Regions from separate parts of the Homo sapiens genome. Here regions 1 and 3 are each linked to region 2. The links are contacts of gene promoters, found by promoter capture Hi-C in human tissues and cell types (Jung and others, 2019). All regions are on one chromosome and are shown on one strand. Each heading gives the region's core, a stretch centred on a gene start or on the middle of the fragment in contact. The rest is flanking DNA. Distances are from core to core; before and after follow the strand shown.

Region 1 (3,657 bases), core at 62-2,561, 60 kb before region 2:
CTGGGCTTCCAGTGCCACCCTGCCTTACAAATTTCATACTTGCCAGCCCCCACGATCGTGTGATATACATATGAATTGAGCCAACTGACACACACACACACACACACACACACACACACACACACACACACACCACGGAGAGTAAGAAAGAGAGGAAAAGCACCCTATTGGTTCTGTTTCTCTAGAGACTCCTGACTGACACAATCACTATAGCTTTATAGTGATTCTTCAAATCAAGTAGTCTTAATCCTCCAACTTTGTTCTTATTCAAACTTTCCAAATCTATACTAGTCTACTCACATATAATAAAAAAGAAGGGAAAGATCACATCCCACTGAATGTTCAGGAGGAATGTCCAAAAGAGATAGTCTGAACTGGACCCTGAGGATAGGAGAATTTTCACAAATATAGCAGAATCAGTGTTATTCCATTATAAGGGGAGGAAAGCTGCTTGAGCGAGACCTCAGAAGAATAATTTTTCCAAAATACTCTGGAAATTGGAGTCATCCAGTATGGCTAGAAAGTAAAGGGTATAGAAAAAAAAAGGCAGTATGTTTGAAAAGATACCTTGGGTTAGTGCTCTGAAACTGCCTTATACAAAAAGAAATTTATTAATACACATAATTGAGCGATCAAAGGTTATGACATCAGGCGTGGCTGGTTCCAGAAGGCTTATTCTCTTTTGTTTTTTCTCCCTCTGTTCCCCTTTCCCCTATCCCTCTCTCTCTCTCTCTCTTGTCAACTCTGCTTTTCTTTATGTTGATTTCAGTCACAGCCAGGTCTTCTCTATTAGGTGAACTCTGACAGCTATAGGTTTATACTACCTGTATAACTTCCAATCCTTGTAGGAAGAAAGCTTCTTATTTTTATACTAGTTCTAATAAAATAAAATACAAAATCCAAGAAACGAGTCTTATTTGACTCATCAGGTTACATGTCTACACCAGAACCACTGTGTTTATGAGATTGGGATATACTGGCTTTCTCGACCTGGGACCTGTGACCATCATCATGGGGGAGAAAGGTAAGGTGGAAGGTGCTGAGTGAAGTCAGCAGAATTACCACATCCTTTCAACTTCCTCCCGTGGAGACTAGGTTTTTGCAATTTCAGCATTTGTTTTTTCATTTCATCCTTAAGACTTCTCTGACTGCTGTTTTATACATTGCTTCTTCCCTTTAAAAAAAAATGTTTAAACTTCTGCTTCTTTCCCCTGCAGTGTCAGTATCACATGTGCAGGTTTCAGCACATCTTGTTGCTCCCTGCTTGTCAGTCAGTTCTCTCCAGAGTTCTAGTTTATTGCTGTCACCACTGGAGTTTGCAACAGATTTCCATTTGGCTCCTTTTGTGAATCTTATTAATATGCAGTTATCACCTCTCTCCACATCATTAAAAGACATTAACCAAAACCAAACCTAATAATGAAGTCTGAAGATTCTGCAGCAGTAACTCCTTCATAGAAACTAAGAAACTTGACAGAGGAGGAATTTGGGTAGGAAAATGGAAAGGGCTTCTTTTTCTAACACACAGAGTTTTCATCAATCTCAAAAGGAGACTTGGAGAGGAAAATAAAAGAACTACAGTGTAAGGTCAGAGAGATAGAAAAGTAGGTCTCAGCATCTGTTTCTGTATGTGTAAAGTAAAAATCACAGCCATGAGCAGCTGCAAGGTTTGGAGGTCTGGGGTTACAAGCTGCTGTTTAAGTGAGGACTCAATTATTAATAGTAAGGCTAAATGGAGGCGCGGTTGACAAAGAATTTTAGTTGTTGGCTTTCCTCCTTCATGCTCTGAAACACTCACCCTTTGGTATTAGAGGTGCTTTTCTGTGGGTTGGTGGTTTTGTTTTAGCCTGAATGTCACTCAGAGTTATCATTGCTGAAAAAAAATCATCTTTCTCCACCAACCCACAGTTGGATTTGTTTGAGTTGGACCTTTCCCTGTCTTATTCACTGTCTTGATCTTGACTGATCTTCAAAAAGTTCAAATCCGTAAGTTCACGTCCATTATCACTCTCACCTGGACCACTGAAGCAGGTAGATGTTATTATCAGTGGCCTGCTTTGTGTATCTAGGATAGGAAAGTAAAAAAGAAAAACCACTCAATGGATTAAGGATGTGACCCTTTGAAGGCAGCATGGCCATATGTCTAGTGCTACTTAATGAGTAGTACGGGGACACGATGCAAGTTCCTTTGAGGCTGGAGCATTTAATTATCAGCCGAAGACCCTCCCATGCTGGGTGCAGTGACAGAGCCCCCATCAACCTGGGTGCCTATGTGATTACAATGAGCAAAGTCTTCCTGACAATCTTTGTTGAACACATAGTCTGAGTAACCAAAAACCTTTGTTGTTTTAAATTTCTAAAATTCTAGGGTGGTTGTTTACCAAAGCATAACCTAGACTATTCTACTGATACAAATATTGGAGCCGAAAGAAGGGCTAGTATAACAATAGCAACAACAATAATATGGCCAAATGGGGGAAAAAAAACAGTCCCGAAATATATGACATTGGCTTATGTGCCAGGTGATAGGTTGTGAGAAAACTGATATTAGAGGCTTGAAAGTTGGTAATCCACTTCATTTAATGGCAAAGCATTTTATAAAGTTGCCACCTTCAGTCATTTTGCAGGCATATCATGCATCTAACTATTTTGGAGCCATATCGTGCTTCTAACTAGGAGAAGAGGTTGGGAAAGAATATCGTAGTGTGCACTGGTTGCTGTTGGCTATACCTGTCAAGGTCCTATAAGCAAGAGATGGTCTCAGCAAAGAATTCACTTACTTGGAAATAGGAATGAAAGAGAATAGAGAGCATCTAAAACTTCAGGGAGTGGTGGGGTTGCAAAGTCAACTGCTTCTCAATTCTAAACTATAAAAGATAAGAATGAGGAAGACTGTGAAAAACAAAGGCTAATAAAACTCAGCCTTGTGGGGAGGATCAAATTAAGGGTGTAGTCATTAAATACAGTTGTTAAGAGCTCTGAGTGGAGTAAGGCATCTTAAAGTAAGATCCAATGAAGGACAGGGTGCCAGTAAATCCTTTTAATCGGATAAAAGCACTCAAGGAAGGAAAGAAAGATGTGGCATGCACTTAAGTCTAGAGATAGGTTTGGGAGTGAGAAATCAAACAGCAAATAAGGGAACCACATTTGAGAAAGGGCTGAGGGAATGGTTAGTGGCACTTAAAGAGACTGAAATACAACATATGGGGAGTCTCGGCTCACTGAATTTTTGAGAGAGGCATGCAGCCAAAGGAGCCATGGGGCTTGGCTAAAAGGGCAGTGACTGTTGAGACCCTGACTTCGAATCATTCAGGGAAGGAAGTAGACTGGAATAGATGCTCCATCTCCTATGAAATCATATTCCCCAATGCCTATTTTAGATGTAGTCAAGAGGGACAAAGAAAAATAAAGAAGCTCCCATGGAGTAGACCAGAAGTGACAGAGAATAATGGATCCAAAAGCTCCTCTAACCTGAAGAATAAGAGATTAATTAAAATATATTTCCACTCCAAGGAGAGGGCCTCAAAAGTTAACCCAGCAGGATCCAGAACTTCCACAGGCCACTCACATCTCCCATTCTCCCCCTTTCTGAATAGGTGTTATCAAGATGATCACTTTCCTCTTCTATCACTGTGTATTGGGTGCAGCAGAAAGGAG
Region 2 (3,636 bases), core at 234-2,733:
GTTCTTTCTATCTACTGCCAGCATCTTTTAAGTATTAACTCACTTACTTCTCATTACAGTGTGGGAGGTATTATGAGGAAACTGAGGCACAGAGAATTTAAGTAACATGTGGATGTTAGTGAGTGAGTGGCTGCAGTTTGGAGCTTGAGCACCATGTTCCAGTGTGTGCTCATCACCAGGCTTCCTTCTGGAAGGGAGAGACAGAGTCGGAGTCTGGAAAACAGCAAGGGAGGGTCTGGATCAGGGGACTGTGAGCAGGCCAGGTGTTGTGAGAGCTGACCGAGGACATGGCCTAGAGGCTGATTATGGAGATTGTGAAAATTGCTATGGAAAAGAAATTTCCAGAACCCAGATTTTGGCTACTTTTGAAAGCATTTTTGAGGTAATACTGTCCTCTAGTGGCTAGATAGCAGGTAGGGATTACCCTCCAAATAAATAGCCAATGAGCCTTGAGTGGAGATGGTATGACAAGTCAGTGGTAAATTCATCATTTTGCTCTCTAACTACAGGTTCTAAAGGAAAGGCAAACCCCACTGCTATGGTCATCGGTACAGCTCAGGATTTCGGCCTCCTCTGCTCCGTGTGTTGGCTACAGGCTAGGTTCAAATCCCAATTCTGCTCTTTACTGCTGAAAGGCTTTGGGCATGTTCGTTAATCTCATTTTCTCTTCTGAAAAAGAGACAATCTTGAAAAGATTGACCTTCCGTGAAGATCAAATGAAGTAATGCGTGTAGTGTGTCTGGCACGTCGTAAGCGCATCACACACGTGAGCTGTGGCAATACTAAGGAGCAGTGGCAAGAGCTGGGGGAGGAGTGGAGACGAACAGACCTGGACAAATTAGTGACCTTTCTGGGACCCCTACAGAACTCTTCTGGAGAAATTAATTCTATTTTTCCATGTACTTTTAAGTTTGCTTTTCCTAGCATTTCTTCTACATTCCTGAATAATTTTCCACTCAAAAATTTCACTGGTTCTCCCTGACTCCCATATTAATCTAGACATAATTACTTCCCCAGAACAGTTCTGTGGGCAGGGAGGGCTCTACACTATGCACCCTCCAAAATCCCCAAAGCTCGGACCGTCCTGGCCTGGGTCCCCACTGCTGTCCTGCCCATGGGCTCCCAGGCTGTGCTTGCTCTTCTCCCACCCCAACCCCATCACCACAAAAAGCCCCTCCTCCAACCCGGGGACTTTTGTAATTTCCTACCTGAAATCATCCACTCCCTACCTCTAACAATCTGTGATGAGCAGAGGACAACATCAAGTTTGAATTTAGAGGTAGGGAATGGGTGATTTCAGGTAGGAAATTACAACTTCACTTTGAAGTTTAATTTTGTAATAAACTTCACTTAATTTTGAAGTAAATTTGCAAAGTCAGCAAAATTCTTTCAAAGTCAACCTTGCTCTGGCCTAGTTGCTTATTTACTGCTAAGCTGGATGTTTTCATTAAAAGATTAACTTTGAGACTTCAGCCTCTTCTTTAGCCTGAACTGTGGGTAGTGATGTGGTGTGTTTCCTAACACCTCCGGCAGTGAGCCAGGCTTTGAGTGGCTGCGTCTAAACACTTCTTTCCCTGAGGACTGGAAGACATTAGAATAAGGTTTGTCATTGAGTGTGTTCTGTGTGCTTGGAACTGAGAAGGGTGATGAAGTGCCAGATAGGATGGGAATGGAAGATATCGTGGAAGCCAACTATGAGTTTGCAAGGCAAGGACCTTGGCAAAGATGGTCCTAGGGAGACAGGTGTTAGGGAACTCAGAGGGCATGGGCAAAGGAAGATTTGGTTTCAAAAAGGATACAGACAGAGAAGGTTAAGTCTAGGAAGTTGAGTCTTAGAATTGTATGGTGGAATATTCGTGGGTGTCCATAGGAGGAAAAATGGGTTAAAATGTTTTCACTTGACAGCGTTCTGAAAACCTAAAAGGTATTGCTATTGCCTTCAGGGATATATTTAGTATTCTGACCACTGCTTCCCGGCCACAAGCAAAAGAAAACAGTGACATGGCTATGCTCCTAAAAAAGTAAAGAAGTTAATGTGTCTCAAACAATGTAGTTCCTTTGAGCAATAAGCTTATTTGGAACAAATGGGTTACAAAGTCCCACTAATGAAGAGCCTCTGATTGTGTTAAGTTGAATCTACAGATCAACCTGCGGAGAACTGCCAAGAACGCTAATGAAGACAGGGAGGTACTGGTATAAAGATAGATAACAGATCAATGGAACAGAATAAAGCGTCCATTAGCAGGAAGCAAAATCCGCAAACTTTTATTCTTAACTACTACTATATTCTGCATTTTACAAGATCCTTCAATTCTCACAAGATCCCTATGAGATAGACAGTAATAACCTAATTTAAAGATAGATGAGAATTGGAGCTTGTCTAGAATAGATTGAGTGGAACATCACTTGTGGTATATCATTTGAGAGGTAATGGGAATATTGCCAAATTCCCAGGTAACTCTCCCCTCAAAGGGACTCCTGTTGTACTCTAAATCGTATCAGCTATCAAATGATGAGCTATGAAAGTCTGTCTTCTTCGACTGTAAGCTTCTTGAGAGCAGAAACTGATGTGATAAAGGTCCCCCCCCATATCTCTAGTGTTTAGCATAATACTTTGATATATTATGTTAAATCAGGCTATGTTATAGTAAAGAATAAACCTTAACAACTTAGTGAGATAACACATAAATATTTATTTCTTCCTTACACAATATCAGCTGATCTCCAGGGCTACCCTTTTCCAAATGGCGTTTTGGGAATCCAAGTGGCCTTTCTCTTACAGCTTTGCCTTCTTGAGGATGGAGGATCGCTGTAGAGGAGGAAACAAAGCTGGAGGGTCACATACCAGCTCTTCAATCCTTGGCCTAGAATTCACACCTGCTATTCCCACTCCCAGGCCATTGGCCAGAAGAACTAGTCACAGAGCCATGCCTGTATTTAAGCAACAGCGAAATGTTAAGCATGTGGGGAGCAGTATATGCCTCCGCCACCCTGGCTGAGAGTGTGTGTCAATAAACCTTCTTGGATAAACTAATGAGTAAATCTGACAGAGGGTTTAAATTATACTATGACAGAAATACTCAAATCCTGAAGCAGCTTTCCACTTCCAGAGCCTCAGATGAAATCACACATGTCATCAACAGGAGGAATAATGAACATGGAGCTGCCTTTATTAACAATCTAGTCTATACAAGGCACTGTTCTAGAAATTTCAAAGGGGCCATACTGCTTAGTCCTCATGGCAGCCCTATGGGATGGATGTTAATATTCTCCTTTAACAAATAAATTTTGCACAGAACCGTGGTGAGCCAGTAGTAGAGCTGAGATTTCAGCCTATGTTTGCCAAGTGCCAAAGCTTATAATATAGTCTGTCTTCTCTACTCCACTGACTCCCTCAGTCATTAGTTCCTTGGGCACAGTTGATCGGTGGAAAGCAATGGCCTTCAGAAACACAGTCTGGGTAGTTGCCGTAGACAGAGAAGCCAGGAGGAAGGCAAAGAGAGAAAAAACTGCACTCCATAGCTGGGCTCTTCCATCCCCAACTGCTCTGCCTTTTCTCCTCTCTCTCCTGCTACAACCCAGTGATTGCCACTGTGAGATATAGGTACACCTGCAAGACCTGAAGTCACTAGTGGA
Region 3 (3,600 bases), core at 88-2,587, 33 kb before region 2:
AGTCCCTCAACCACCCAAGGGCTGAGGAGTGCGGGCGCATGGCACGGGACTGGCAGGCAGCTCCACCTGCGGCACCGGTACCGGATCCACTGGGTGAAGCCAGCTGGGCTCCTGAGTCTGGTGGGGACTTGGAGAACCTTGGTGTAGACACTCTGTATCTAGCTAATCTAGTGGGGATGTGGAGAACTTTTGTGTCTAGCTAAGGGATTGTAAATACACCAGTCGGCACTCTGTATCTAGCTCAAGGTTTGTAAACACACCAATCAGCACCCTGTGTCTAGCTCAGGGTTTGTGAATGCACCAATGGACACTCTGTATCTGGCTACTCTGATGGGGACTAGGAGAACCTTTGTGTCTAGCTCAGGGATTGTAAACGCACCAATCAGCACCCTGTCAAAACGGACCATTCAGCTCTCTGTAAAACAGACCAATCGGCTCTCTGTAAAATGGACCAATCAGCAGGATGTGGGTGGGGCCAGATAAGAGAATAAAAGCAGGCTGCCCCAGCCAGCAGGCACAACCCTCTCGCCTCACCTGCCGCAGTGTGGAAGTTTTGTTCTTTGGCTCTTTGCAAAAAATGTTGCTGCTGTTCACTCATTGGGTCTACACTACCTTTATGAGCTGTAACACTCACTGGGAAGGTCTGCAGCTTCACTCCTGAAGCCAGCGAGACCACGAACCCACCGGGAGGAACAAACAATTCCAGACGCGCCGCCTTAAGAGCTGTAGCAGTCACGGCCGGGCACGGTGGCTCACGCCTGTAATCCCAGCACTTTGGGAGGCCGAGACGGGCGGATCACGAGGTCAGGAGATCGAGACCATCCTGGCTAACACGGTGAAACCCCGTCTCTACTAAAAATACAAAAAAAATTAGCTGGGCATGGTGGCGCACGCCTGTAGTCCCAGCTACACGGGAGGCTGAGGCAGGAGAATGGCGTGAACCCGGGAGGCGGAGCTTGCAGTGAGTCGAGATCGCGCCACTGCACTTCAGCCTGGGCGACAGAGCGAAACTCCGTCTCAAAAAAAAAAAAAAAAAAGAGCTGTAGCAGTCACAGCAAAGGTATGCAGCTTCACTCCTGAGTCAGCGAGACCAGGAACCCACCACAAGGAAGAAACTCCGAACACATCCGAACATCAGAAGGAACAAATTCTGGACACGCTGCCTTTAAGAACTGTAACACTCAGCGCGAGGGTCCCCTGCTTCATTCTTGAAGTCAGTGAGACCAAGAACCCACCAATTCCAGACACAAAAGGAGAGGTTGGATTAAATGTTCCTCAAAGTCTTCCATTTCTGGCTTTTTATTCCAGTGCCCAAAGTCCTTCACACAAAGCAGGTGTCTTATCAGTTGATTGGTCAGGCATGGCCACTATTTTTGGCCGTGGGCAAAGGAGTCTGGTGGGGACGGGGCTGAGAAGTATGCTAGGTGAGTGTCTCTGGCACAAATGGCTGAGCTGCAGAGCCCCAAGCGGCATGGCAGGGACCAGGAGACCCGATTCCTGATCTGCCGCAGTTAACCTGGTGACTATGAGTGAGACACACAACTGCTCTCCATCTCAGTGTCCCCATTAGGAAACAGAAACACCAGGCCCAACCTACCCAAGTGTGTCAGGAAACTGAGAACTGCTCTGGTCTCATGCTGGGACGGTGGCACAGTACACCAAGTGGTATCTTCTCCCAAAGTCTGCTCCTGTGGTAGGAGTCATAGGTCATTGAAGTACACTATAATTGAGTGGTTAAGGTGGTGAGATCCAAAGTCAGGCTGCCTGCATTCAGATCATCCAGCATCCTAACCATTAGGCAAGTTACAGAACTCCTTTGGGCCTTGACTTTATCTGTAAAATGGGAATAATAATCACAGAGCATACCTCATGGGATTATTATGAAGATTAAACACGTTAAAAACTTAAAAATGCTTCTAATTATGCCTGGCACGTTCAGCAGGTATTACATAGGTGTTAGTTTTGTTACTGCCAACCTCTCTCAAGCTTTGGGTGCCCACCAAATGTCCCTTTAGTGTGCACAGACTTGTGTCTTCTTCCAGGAGAGGGTAAGGAAAGCTGCCCAAACTTTCAGCTGCATGGAACAAGTACCTTCATTCATTCATTTCCAGGACAGAGATCTCCGAGTGCCCACAAGGTACCAAGCCCTATGCTTTGGAGGGTCAACGTGACTTTCCACCTTGGCTACCACCTGCATCCACCAGGAGAGCACACAGTGGGTGCCTTCCCTGCATGGTGAACAGGAGCAGCCTTGTGTATGAGTGAAAGAGTTTTATAAGGCCAGCTGGACCCCAGGGTGGTGCCGTGCCAGGTATAACGCCAGAAGCTTCCCATCATACTTTAAGACTCTAGTGAGGGGATTTGAGCCAGAGCCAAGACTAGGATTTAGTGAGCTATTTGATTGGAGGTTTCGCTGCCTCCATCTAAAGCCAATTGATTCCACTAGTGGTTTACCCTTTCTCAACATCAGCTGTGACTGGCTGATTTTTTAAGATTACTATCCACACCCTCTCAAACATTAGAACAATGAATTTCCCAGTTCAAGTTCTATATTTTCTCAATTCCAGAGGAAAGAAAATGACTACTACATGTGTGTGATTTTGTCCCTGGGAGCATCTATGAAATATGCAGCATTCTCTTTCTAGCTGGGAAATCACTTTAAAAATACTATCTCTAATTCATCTTCATGTTTTCGACAGGGAGTTTGTTATTCCCGTTTCCCAGATGGAGTAACTGAGAGCAGAGTCAGGAGACAGCTTGCTCAAGGACCTAGAACAACAGAATGATTTGGTGGTGGGGCCAAGATTGAGTTCTTATTTCCTGCCTCTCAATCCATTGCAACCCAGGAATGACCTTTCTGGGCAATGTTAGAAACATGACCATATGAAATGGAGAATTTAGATTACAATTCCCTGGACCATATCCAGGACACTAAAATGAGTGTGTTGCACTTGTGAAATGCATTCTAAGAATTGTTTACTGTTCTGAATGTAAGTTAGGATGAAGCAGATCTTCTACGGAGGCTCCAGGCTAATCCCAGCTTCCCTCCCCACCCAAGCCCCGTGGACAATGACTTGCAATCCATGTCAACAAAGATTTAACCCTTACAGTGTGCAGGGGACTGCTGGGCTGGATGTTTATAAACAAACCAAGATAAGACGGAACCTCCCTTGAAAGAACGGCATGAGGATGAATACAAAAATGAAATGTCAGGCCCCAGCCTGTACATAAACAGCCTTGTATATGTGAGTGGCATGTCCCATGCTCCAGCTGACCTATCAGGAAGCCTAGGGACAGTAGCAATACTTTTAGCAGCTGTGGCAGGCCTCCTCTCTGCATTCTAGAGTGGCTCCCACTCCCCTCCAATTTCAAATGACTCCTTATTTCAGGCTGCTTCTCTTGCCCTGGGACTTGGCCTTGTTGTTTGCGCTTTGGTTTTCCCTGCATTTTGTTCTCAAGGCCTCGGGTTTGGACTCACCCCCCTCCCAACTCCACCATTCTTCTAAGCCAAAACTGATCTGAGGTCCCCTTTTAAAAAATTTGACACAATTTAACAGACATGTGTTGAGTGTCCAAGAGATACAAATACACTATAATTTG

What was found. The method cuts DNA at HindIII sites, captures the fragments that hold promoters and counts their contacts. A contact is called where the count stands out against the background at its distance.
Region 1: a contact is called between a fragment that was not itself captured here and the fragment with the promoter of HAO2 in region 2, in 1 of the 25 tissues and cell types used here (H1 embryonic stem cells).
Region 3: a fragment that was not itself captured here is called in contact with the fragment with the promoter of HAO2 in region 2 in 1 of the 25 tissues and cell types used here (psoas muscle).

Annotation. Positions count from the first base shown.
Region 1 is chr1:119,307,267-119,310,923 of GRCh38, forward strand. No RefSeq gene overlaps it. Among named protein-coding and RNA genes, the nearest start is that of LINC01780, 19 kb to the right of the region's middle. The HindIII fragment of the contact is 6,234 bases long and covers 1-3,657 here.
Region 2 is chr1:119,367,302-119,370,937 of GRCh38, forward strand. It overlaps HAO2 (hydroxyacid oxidase 2), which reads left to right and starts at 1,484. Exons shown (of 8, transcript NM_016527.4): 1 at 1,484-1,601. It overlaps HAO2-IT1 (HAO2 intronic transcript 1), which reads left to right and starts at 1,645. Exons shown (of 2, transcript NR_046780.1): 1 at 1,645-1,707; 2 at 2,783-3,030. The HindIII fragment of the contact is 9,840 bases long and covers 1-2,308 here.
Region 3 is chr1:119,334,056-119,337,655 of GRCh38, forward strand. All of the region lies in intron 2 of LINC01780 (long intergenic non-protein coding RNA 1780), which reads left to right. Among named protein-coding and RNA genes, the nearest start is that of LINC01780, 7.6 kb to the left of the region's middle. The HindIII fragment of the contact is 3,396 bases long and covers 1-3,035 here.